Linked DNA regions of Homo sapiens: region 1 is linked to region 2. Evidence: promoter capture Hi-C in 16 types of primary human blood cells and fetal thymus (Javierre and others, 2016). All regions are on one chromosome and are shown on one strand. The core of a region is centred on a gene start or on the middle of the fragment in contact, and the rest is flanking DNA. Distances in the headings are between cores, read along the strand shown. Region 1 has its middle 13 kb from the start of TINCR. Region 2 holds the start of KDM4B (lysine demethylase 4B).

Region 1 (5,701 bases), core at 2,695-5,194, 610 kb after region 2:
GCCCGTGGGGGAAACGCTGGGCGGGCAGAGAGATGGGGGCTTCCGCGGCAGGAGGGGCCCAACCGGGTCGGCTGCGTTGCAGAGCGTGGCTCTTGGGCGCCACCTAGTGGGCACATGGAGTAGAGGGCCCGGCTGCCCCAAGTGCAGATCCACATCTGTGCAGGTCCTGGGTTCATCTGTTTCTGCTTTTGTCTATTTGCGTCCCTGTGTGTGTGCGTCTGTTTCACTCTGTGTCTCAGTCTCTGTCTCTCTTCTCCCTGAATCTCTCTTTTTCTGTGTCTCGGTGTCTTTATCTCTCCATCCCTCTTTTTTCTCCCCTTCCCTCCCCCACGGCTTCCCCCACCTCCAGAGCCTGAGGCTTCGTCAATAAGCAAGCCAGGCATCTCCAGTGACCCAGCACACCCCACTTATAGCCGCATCTCTTGGGTCCCGTCCCTCAACGGCGTCTTGGTCCCCATGAGTGTCCACCTGCTATGACTCAGCCAGGGGCTGAGTGAGTGGGGGTGTGATACCCAACGGACTCTCACTCTGTCGCCCAGGCTGGAGTGCAGTGGTGCAACATCAGCTCACTGCAACCTCCACCTCCCAGGTTCAAGAGATTCTCCTGCCTCAGCCTCCCGAGTAGCTGGGATTACAGGCATGCGCCACCATGCCCTGCTAATTTTTGTATTTCTAGTAGAGACAAGGTTTTGCCATGTTGACCAGGCTGATCTCGAACTCCTGACCTCAGGTGATCCACCCACCTCAGCCTCCCAAAGTGCTGGGATTACAGACATGAGCCACCGTGCCTGGCTAATTATATCTATTTTTTAATACAGAGTCTCGCTCTGTTGCCCAGACTGGAGTGCAGTGGTGTGATCTCAGCTCACTGTAACTTCCACCTCCCAGATTCAAGTGATTCTCCTGCCTCAGCCTCCCGAGTAGCTGGGATTACAGGCGTGCACCACCACACCTGGCTAATTTTTGTGTTTTTAGTAGAGATGGAGTTTCACCATGTTGACCAGGCTGGTCTCAAGTGATCTGCCTGCCTCGGCCTCCCAAAGTGCTTGGAGTACAGGTGTGAGGCACCATGCCCAGCTGTGCCCACCAGTTCTGCCAGCCTGCTTGCTCCTATGTTCTGGTCTTTGGAGCAGGGATCCCAAAACTGGAGGCGGCTTGTGGCCCCCCCTGCTGTGTCTTTGTCCAAACAGAGCCAGGGCCCTGAGTCCAGTGTGGCTCGCCCCTCCTTCCCCAGGGCTGGCTGGTTCTAGCTTCCTGGAGGTGAAAGTGGTCATGGCATGGGGAGACCGGGGACACGGGGACAGTGAGGATTTGGATCTCAAGCAAGGAAAGGCCTGAAGAGAGACATTTGAGTGTTACCCTCAAACCCTTCGAGGAGGGCTGGCTCTCTTCTTCTCAAGAAGAAGAAACCCTACAGGCTGGTGGTCCCATCCCTGATCAGCCACTGCGGCCCCAGGTCCCCATGTTCCTGCCTGCTCTGTTGCTCAAAGGTGCTAGGCCAGGTGCATGGCTCATGCCTGGAGTCCCAGCTGCTCAGGAGGCTGGGGCATGAGGATTACTTCCAGGAGCTCAAGGTTGCAGTGAGCTATGATCGCGCCGTTGTACTCCAGCCTGGGCAACAGAGCAAGATCCCATCGCTCCGAAAAACAAAAAAAAGGGTGGGAGGCGTGTCCTTTCCTTCCTGGGGGCTTCTGCACACCCTGTTTCTTCTTCTGGAAAGCCCTTCTGGGGCTCCTTCACTCCTCATGGCTTAGGTCTGTCCAGTCCCCTCCTCCAAGAAGCCAGTCTCATTCCACCCCCAGACAACAGGAACCTGCAGGCTTGTCTCAGTCATGGCTGCATCTCTGCCATGGAGCCCTGCTCGCAGTAAGTACCCAAGAAGCATTTGCTAAGCTAAATAAGCAAGAAAACAAAGGACTCAGAGCCCAGCTCTTGAGCCTGGATTTCATCTTGACTTGCTTGGCAGGGGGCCTTGGCCAAGTGGGTTTCCTTCCTGCTCTGTGCACTGTTTCCCCAGCAATGGGGACCTTTCCCGGACCACCTGTGAGATCCACCCTGCTGGGTTTCATTTCAGCTGAGTCTGTAAATATTTGGTCTGCTGTGGCCGGCAGCATACACGCAGGGGAAGCTTCAGTGCCTTTTACGAGCTCCCCGCGAGGCCTGATATGCGTTTTCTGTGGCTGGGTACACGGGGCACCCCAGTAGTTTCACAGCTCGTTGGCACGAGGTGGCTATGATTCCAAGACTGGAAGAAGCCGAGAGACACCATCAGTGGCTTCCAGCACTTAACTCCACAGCGTGCAGCATTTGAGAGGCCAAAGAGGGGCCTCTTGTTTTAAAAACTGTAATGCAACATTATAGATTACAGCTGCAGTAGAAATCGAGCCCAGCGATTCCCCTTCCCTAAGTCTATGGGCCACACTTAATTTCTTAAAGGGCAGAGGGGAGGGATTTCTGTTGGGCAAGGAGTGGGAAGCCCTGGTTTAGACCTGTCTCTTGCTAAAAAAATTCAAAGAACCACAACCACTTGCTATGCACCTACTGTATGCCAGATATTGCATAAAGCACTTTTTTATTTTTTTGAGATGGAGTCTCATTCTGTCTCCCAGGCTGGAGTGCAGTGGTGCGATCTTGACTCACTGCAACCTCCGCCTCCCAGGTTCAAGCGATTCTCCTGCCTCAGCCTCCTTAGTAGCTGGGATTACAGGCATGCGCCACCATGCCCAGCTAATTTTCATATTTTTAGTAGAGATGGGGTTTCACCATGTTGGCCAGGCTGGTCTCGAACTCCTGACCTCAGGTGATCTGCCCACCTCACCCTCCCAAAGTGCGGGGACTACTGGCGTGAGCTACCGTGCCCGGCCAAAACCTGCTTTTTTTTTTTTTTTTTATGGAGTCTCGCTCTGTCACACAGGCTGGAGTGCAGTGGTGCGACCTCAGCTCACTGCACCCTCCATCTCTGTGTTCAGGCGATTCTCCTGTCTCAGTCTCCTGAGTAGCTGGGACTACAGGTGCCTACCACCACACCCGGCTAATTTTTGTGTTTTTAGTACAGACGGGGTTTCACCATGTTGGCCAGGCTGGTCTCAAACTCCTGAGCTCAGGTGATCCACCCGCCTCACCCTCCCAAAGTGCTGGGATTACAGGCATGAGCCACCGCGCCCGGCCAAAACCTGTATTTTAAAAGGCTGTGCACTGGGGAGATGCAGATGCCTGCCCCAACGATGCTTATGTGGTGGAGAGTGCCGACAATAAACAATGCTTTAGCGAGTGGTCAGAGCCACGAGGACAGGCAGGTGTGACAAGGCAGAGGGTGATGAGGCGCTGCTGATCCAGTGGTCAGAGGAGACCTCTTGCAGGGGGCAGAATTTGAAGGGGCTGGGCATGTGTGGCTGGTCTCCTCAGTCACAGCCAGTGCCACGCTGTTCTTTTTTGAGACAGCCCTGTCGCCCAGGCTGGAGTGCAGTGGTGTGATCACAGCTCACTGCAGCCTCTGCCTCCTGAGCCCAAGTGATCCTCCCTCCTCAGCCTCGTGGGTAGCTGGGACTACAGGTGTACACCAGCAGCCCAGCCAATTTTATTTTTTTGTACAGATGGGGTCTTGCTACATTACCCACACTGCTCTCAAACTCCTGGGCTCCAGTGATCCTCCCACCTCAGCCTCCCAAAGTGCTGGGATTACAGGCATGAGCCACCGGGCCCTGGTTCACAGACCACCCAGGAAGCTCTCCCAGGAGGGCAATGTCTCGGGTCCTCAGTACCTTATGCTCCACTGAACCCGGCAGCTGCTGTGTCAATATTTGCAGGTGGAGGCAAACACAGGGCAGCTGCATCTCACGAGGATTTGAGGAGTACGGAGAAGCGGCTCTTGGTGCTCCCGGGAGTAATTTAGGGGCAGTTTCTGGCCCAGTATTGCTGTCTCTGGAAGCACTGTAGGACATGTAGAGTTATCCTTGGGGTCAACTCTAAAGGCCAAGCGCATGTGCAAAATTATGTACACACTCACGTACGCAGCTTGCTCACTGGTGCCCCAAACACCTATCCCTTCACCACCGTGTGACCGCGGCACGGGGTGCCCTGACAACCGGGGAGGCTGAGGAGAAGGGACCTCGGGCTGCAGCCTCAGCTCCATGGCTCGCTACCTCTGGGCGGGTCTCAGCCTCCCTCGGGCTCAGAACCTTCTTCTGCGCTTGACTTTCCCAGGAATTGACTCCAGTTTCCCAGGGAGCTGCACTGGGCTATGTCTGGGTTTGGTGATGTTGTGTGGCGTCCGTAGGTGTCCTCATATAAATTGGTGGCTGGCCAGGGGGACTAGAGATGTCTAACTTGCTTGACTGGTAAGCACATCAGGTGCTTCCCAAAGTGGATTCTGTTGTACACCAGGGTGACGGACAAGGATGCCCACGTCCTAATCCCTGGGACCTATGAACACATTGGTCTCCAAGACAAAGGGACCTTGCAGATGTGATTAAGGTGAAGGAATTCGTGGCTGGGTGTGGTGGCTCATGCCTGTCATCCCAGCACTTTGGGAAGCCAAGGCAGGAGAATCACCCGAGGCCACGAGTTTGAGACCAGCTTGGCCAACATGGGGAAACCCCATCTCTACTAAAAATACAAAAACTAGCCAGGCATGGTGGCAGGTACCTGTAATCCCAGCTACTTGGGAGGCTGAAGCAGGAGAATCGCTTGAACCCGGGAAGCGGAGGTTGCAGTGAGCCAAGATTGTGCCACTGCACTCCAGCCTGGGCAACACGGCACGGCTTCATCTCAAAAAACAAAGAGAAAAGCTCTCCTAGTCCACCCAGCTGACCAAAGAAATGGCTGAAGGGCTGAGGTCTGAACCCACCCAGCAGTGAGAGCAGAATCCGAACCCTGATTTGTCACCATCGTATGACCAGGTAGGAACAGCCTCACCTCTCCCGTGGGTCACTGGGACTCAAGGAAGCCCTGCCCCTCAATCCGGCAAACCTGTTAAAAGGCACGGCATCCCCGTTAAACGTCGACTTTATGGTTGTTGGGTTTTTTTGGAATCAAAAGGCCCTGTTCTAACTTTGCCTTTGAAATTATGTGACTAGGAGTCATGCATGCAATTTGAGACTGGCAATCATCGTGGAGGCTTGGGAGTTCCTTGGGAATAAGAAAATCTAACCTAGGAGCTGTTTTGAAATGTAATGAAATCTTTATGAATACAAAATTTAGCAATTGGTGAAGTTGACACATTTTGTAGCTGTGGAGACATTTCGTAAGGTCTTAATTCTACTTTTTCTTTCTTTTTTTTTTTTTTTTGAGATGGAGTTTCGCTCTTTCACCCGGGACTAGAGTGAAGTGGCGCGATCTCGGCTCACTGCAACCTCCGCCCCCCAGGGTTCAAGAAGTCTCCTGCCTCAGCCTCTCGAGTAGCTGGGATTACAGGCACCCACCACCATGCCTGGCTAATATTTGTATTTTTAGTAGAAATGGGGGTTTCCCCATGTTGGCCAGGCTGGTCTCGAACTCCTGACCACAGGTGACCTACCCGCCTCAGCCTCCAGAAGTGCTGGGATTCGAGGCATGAGCCACCGCGCCAGGCCATAAGGTCTTAATTCTGATTCTGCTGTTTTCTTTCTGTATGGCTGGAGCTGGTCATTTCCTCACCGGGACCCCCTCCAGACCTCTGGCATTGCATTTCGCCAGGGCCCCTGTGAAACATGAGCACCCGAGG
Region 2 (5,134 bases), core at 1,808-4,307:
CAAGCCAAGCCTCCTGGTCTTGTTTAGGGGGAGGTCCCCAAGCATTCCCTGCCCCAGTCCTTTGTGAGATTTGCATCTGACTGCAAAGGATGGAAGAAAACCAGGGCAATTAGGTGAGTGTTGCCTAAATTAATCTGCCCATTAAAATATTCTAAAGAGCATTTCCTTCCTTTTTGGAGGATGAGGACTTCTACTTATCTGACAGCAATTCTAGTGTGTTTTTAACATTTTAATATGAAGAGTTTCCAAAACTTGGAAAGAATCGGATTTGGAAAGAATCGGATGGTGAACCCTCAGACCTACCGTCTAGATTCTATGATCATGTTAAGTTTTTCTCATAAGAGATGGCATGAAAACTTTGTCTAAGCAAAATAAAGTGGAGAACCCATTTGGGTTCCTCGGTTAAAAACATTTATATTGTCTGTGAAATCTAAACACCCCCCACTGTCTCAGAGAATATACTTGGAAGTAGAACAAAAAGCCCTATGTATGTGGTACGTGGGGTGGGGACTCTTTCCCTTCATGATTGCACTTTTTTTTTTTTTTGAGACAGGGTCTCATTCTGTTGCCCAGGAGTGCAGTGGTGTGATCATGGCTCACTGCAGCCTCGACCTCCTGGGCTCAAGTGATCCTCCCTCAGCCCCCAGTGTAGCTGGGACCACAGGCATGTGCCCGCACAATCAACTCGGTTTTTATTTTTAGTAGAGAAGAGGTCTCGCTCTGTTGCCCAGGCTGGCCTGAAACTCCTGGGATCAAGTGATCCTCCCACCTTGGCCTCCCAAAGGGCTGGGATTACAGATGTGAGTCACTACACCCAGCCTGGGCAACAGCCTGTTTTTAAATTTTGTTTTTACTTTTTATTTTGAGACGGGGTTTGACTCTGTCACCCAGGCTGGAGTGCAGTGGTGTAATCAACGGCTCACTGCAGCCTCCACTTCCCCGGGCTCAGGTGATCCTTTCGCCTCAGCCCCCGAATAGCTGGGATTATAGGCGCGTGTCACCACGCCCAACTTTTGTAATTTTTTTGGTAGAGACGGAGTCTTGCTATATTGCCCAGCCTGTTCTCAAACTCGTGGGCTCAAGTGATCTGCCCATCTCAGCCTCCCAAAGTGCTGCGATTCCAGGCATGACCTGAAATTAAATCTCAACTCCATGTGGAATATATGAATATGGTCCCATAAGAATTTAAAACACCCAGAGCTTCTTAAATTCTCCTTTGACTTCTCTTTTTACCAGTGTGCAGCTTTCCTTCTCTCCCCAAGGATTAAGTTCGTTTCTTCAGTTTAGGAGTACCTTTTTCTGTGCATTGACAAGCTTGTGTGCTCTTAACCTCATGATACCGGTTTCTGTGTGTGTTTCCATATTTATTTTATTGAGTACAGGATTCTGGACCACTGTCCCTAGCTCAGCGGTTGGGAGATATTTCATGTTTGCAAACAGATCGGCCTTCTCTTTTTTCTTTTCTTTCCTTTTTTGAGACAGAGTCTCACCCTGTTGCCCAGGCTGAAGTGCAGTGATCTCGACTCACTGCAACCTCCGCCTCAGCCTCTGGAGTAGCTGGGATTACAGGCATGCGCCACCATGCCTGGCTAATTTTGTATTTGTTAATAGAGACAGGTTTTTGCCATGTTGGCCAGGCTGGTCTCGAACTCTGGACCTCAGGTGTTCCACCCGACTCGACCTCCCAAAGTGCTGGGATTACAGGTGTGAGTCGCCCGAGCCACAGCACCGGGCCTGGCCTCCTTTTCAATTGCTACATAGTAAGTATTCCAGAGTACTGATTGCTATTAAGTTACTTCTCTAATCCCCCACTGATGGATAGTTAGTGCAAAACATTGGAAACAGTTGCAGACAGCCCTGCCGCCGGCATTCTTGAATTGTGTAAGCTCCAGACCTTTTTTCTGGGTACATCACCTCCAGGAAGAACTGCTGGCTGGGTTATCGGGTGGTGGATGCACTTAGAATGTTATTAGAAAATGTCAAATTGCCCAATTTACACTCCTGCCACTCCAAATGGGGGCATGCCTCACACCCCTGCGTGGTCCAGTACACAATGAATGCTCATTTTGTGAAGTCACAGGGTCAAATCTTTCTCCGTGCCTCATCCCACTTAATCCTTGCAACATTCTCAAGAGGCGGGTAGACGGGGTGTGGCCACTACCATCATATCCATTGCACAGTTGGAAACAGACTCAGCGAGGTTACTTTGCTGGAGGTCAACCACAGTGAGGCATGGGGCCCGGCTTAGCTTTGAATCCAGGTCAGAAAGCACCAAAGCTCATTCTCTCCCATACATTTTAGGGAACTCGGGGAGAGGGACCCTAACTATTCCGAAGGCCTTGCCCCTTGGCAAAGGTTTGTTGATTGTGATGGGAATAGACCTACGGTGGCGGGGTGGAGGCTCTTGCTGCTTTACCCTATGTTCTCGGTTCTCCTCCTTTGCAAAACGGATCGCTATGTCTCCTTGCTTGGCACTTTGCAAATTGGGGAACGCTAAGCCCACATTCCGGCCACGGGTTTCGAACCTCCAGCCTGCACGTTCCCGGCCGGTGCTGATGCTGTGCTGGGTCTCACGTACTCAGCCGCCGCCTGATAACCAGGGCGGGGCCCGGAGCTTGCGGGCAGTGATTGGCACCTGCCCCAGCCTGTCCGCGCCTCGGGCTGGCCCCTCAAGCCAATACTGGCTCCTCTCTGTGCGGTCGTCGGGCGGGCCCTGAGGCTCCCTTGTCAATCCAAGGCCCAGCTGCCGTCGGGTTGGTCGCGGCAGCCTTGGCTGGCGTGCGCCCCCTCCAATGAGAACAGAGCCGGTCAGCGGGCACGTGGGTGGGCGCCGGCGTGTCCCCGCCGGTCTGCCAATGAAGAGGCGAGGCCGGCGTTTGTCCCCGCCCAATCGCGGCGCGCGGTGGGCGGGCCGTGCGGTGTTGATGGGCCCGGCGGAGGGGAGGGGCGGAGCTGTCAGCTCCGGCCAATGGGCGCTCGGGCGTGGATCCGGCAGCCAATGGCAGTCGGGGCGGAGCTGGCGCGCGGCCTTATAAGCCCCCCCGCGAGCGCTTGCGGAGGGCTCGGTCGCCAGCAACCGAGCGGGGCCCGGCCCGAGCGGGGCCTGGGGGTGCGACGCCGAGGGCGGGGGAGAGCGCGCCGCTGCTCCCGGACCGGGCCGCGCACGCCGCCTCAGGTGAGCCCACGGGGAGGCCGCCCGGCCGTGTCCGAGCGCGGACCCCGCCGCCATGGCCGCCCCCGCGTCGCGGCTCGGGGCTGCGGGCGCGCCCGGGACTCGAGGCCCAGGCCTCGGGCGCGGCCTGCTCGGGCCGGGCCTCGCGCTTTGTCCGGGCCGGCGGGGCGGTTGGGGCGTTAACCGCCCGGCCCGGGGGCGCCCGCTGGTTTTCGGGCGGGGGCGGCGGGGCCGGACAATGGCGGGGCGCGCCCAGGGGCGGGAGCGGGGGCCCCTTCCCGGGCCGGGGGCGCGCGGGGGCTGGGCACAGACGGCCCCGGCGCCCCGCACAAAAGATGACAGCGTGGGTGGCCCCGGCCGGGCCCTTTTATCACCCGGGACAAGCCTCGGCCTATTATTATTATTATTTTTGAAAGAAAGCAAGAAAAAGGAAAAAGACCCCAGCCCCTGGGTAACCCCCGCCTGCGTTTCTGGCCCTTTGGGCGCCAGGGGGGCTAAGGGGAAGCCCCCCAGCTGGACACCCAGGGATGCCCCCTAAATGCCTATCATTGCTCCTGCACTGCCCCCACCTCCGGTCAACCTGCTATGCCTTGGTAGCTTCCAAACTTGCCCCCCTGTACGTACCCGAAACCCCCACCCCGCCATAAGCATATGCAATCTGGATTTTAGAAAAAAATCATCTTGCTATGCAACGGCAGCCTCCACGAGTCTCTCCGTCCCTCCCCCTTCCAGCCTGATCGCCATCTCGAACGAAGCCCCTGCTCTAGAGAAATGAATTGAGGAGTTGCTTCCGCCGAGACCCCTTTTCTGTGTCCCCCGTGGACATCCCCCTGGGAGCTGGGGACGGACTCGCTCTGAAATCTGCTTGACCTGGGGTCTGCCAGGGCCCAGGTCTGCGCTCAGTGGTGGCCATGACAATCAGGCAGGACGGGGGACTCTGTCCACCTGGGCACGGTGGAAGGTTTTAAGGGGCATGTTTTCCGCCCCTGGGGGCAGTGGAGGCATGGACTGCTTTTGGGTGCATCCCATCTGTTTGCTTGGGGGAGGATGCTTCTGTTTTAATAATTTACCAGCACCCTGTGAGGAAGTGTTCCCCGAGTTGTGAAACTAGTGAGAAGGTGGTTCAGCTCCGTGGAGCCTAGTGATCCTGTCATATGTGAAGAGCGTCTTTTTCCATGTGTTTCTGGCTGGGGCGTGTATTCAGCAAGTTCCTTTGGGTCCCACCGGGTGCCTGCACTGTCTTGGGATCTCTGGATACTGGACTGAATTCAAGGGATCGGTGCCCTGCCCCAGTCCTCTGCCTCAATGGCCATTTATCAGAATGTCCCCGGGCTGGAGAATGCTCCTAAAAACAGCACCAGTCCTAAAGCAGGCTCATTAGACGACTCCTATGGGCTTTTATCACTGCCGTTATGGGAGCTAATGACTCCCCTAATTCTCCAATAATAGCTTCCTTATGAGCCACCAGGAGGGTTTGTCAACACACGGGGTCAGCCTTCTCCTGCAGCCCCTGCTGAAGCAGTGGGCATCCTCTCTCCGCTTTGCAGTTTATGTTTTGAAACCCTGAAGGTCGGAGCGTAAAGCCGTGGTAGAGTCAACTTCTGTCTGAGCCGAGGATTTCTGGGACTTGCCAGCCTCGTCTCCGTGTGTCTGATTGGACACCTGGCAGGTCCGGGCGCTCCCCCTCCTTGAGCCGGCGACACCAGGACGGGTCAGACTGTCCTGGCCTAGAGGAGGTCACCGCTGGGGAGGAAAAGGGGGTAACGGAGATTCTGCCGCACAGACGGGTGTCTGTGTACAGGCTGTTTTGGTGGAAGCGTCTACTGTGTCAGGAGCTGCGGGTGCCTGCGTGTGCACGTGTGTGTTTAGTTGCTGAGACCTGAAATATATATGTCTTAGTAACAATCCGTTTGCTCGCATTTTCTAACCCTTTCCTCTTTGGGGAGGGGGCTGCTAACAAGA

The links. Contacts are between HindIII fragments. The CHiCAGO score rates a contact against its expected background, and 5 or more counts as called.
Region 1: a contact is called between a fragment that was not itself captured here and the fragment with the promoter of KDM4B in region 2, in 1 of 17 cell types (endothelial precursors). The highest score is 5.3, in endothelial precursors.

The regions. Positions count from the first base shown.
Region 1 is chr19:5,578,301-5,584,001 of GRCh38, forward strand. No RefSeq gene overlaps it. Among named protein-coding and RNA genes, the nearest start is that of TINCR, 13 kb to the left of the region's middle. The HindIII fragment of the contact is 3,636 bases long and covers 2,127-5,701 here.
Region 2 is chr19:4,966,056-4,971,189 of GRCh38, forward strand. KDM4B (lysine demethylase 4B) reads left to right here and starts at 3,058. Exons shown (of 23, transcript NM_015015.3): 1 at 3,058-3,175. RefSeq lists silencers at 2,522-2,621, 2,932-3,231 and an enhancer at 4,498-4,547. The HindIII fragment of the contact is 5,018 bases long and covers 1,313-5,134 here.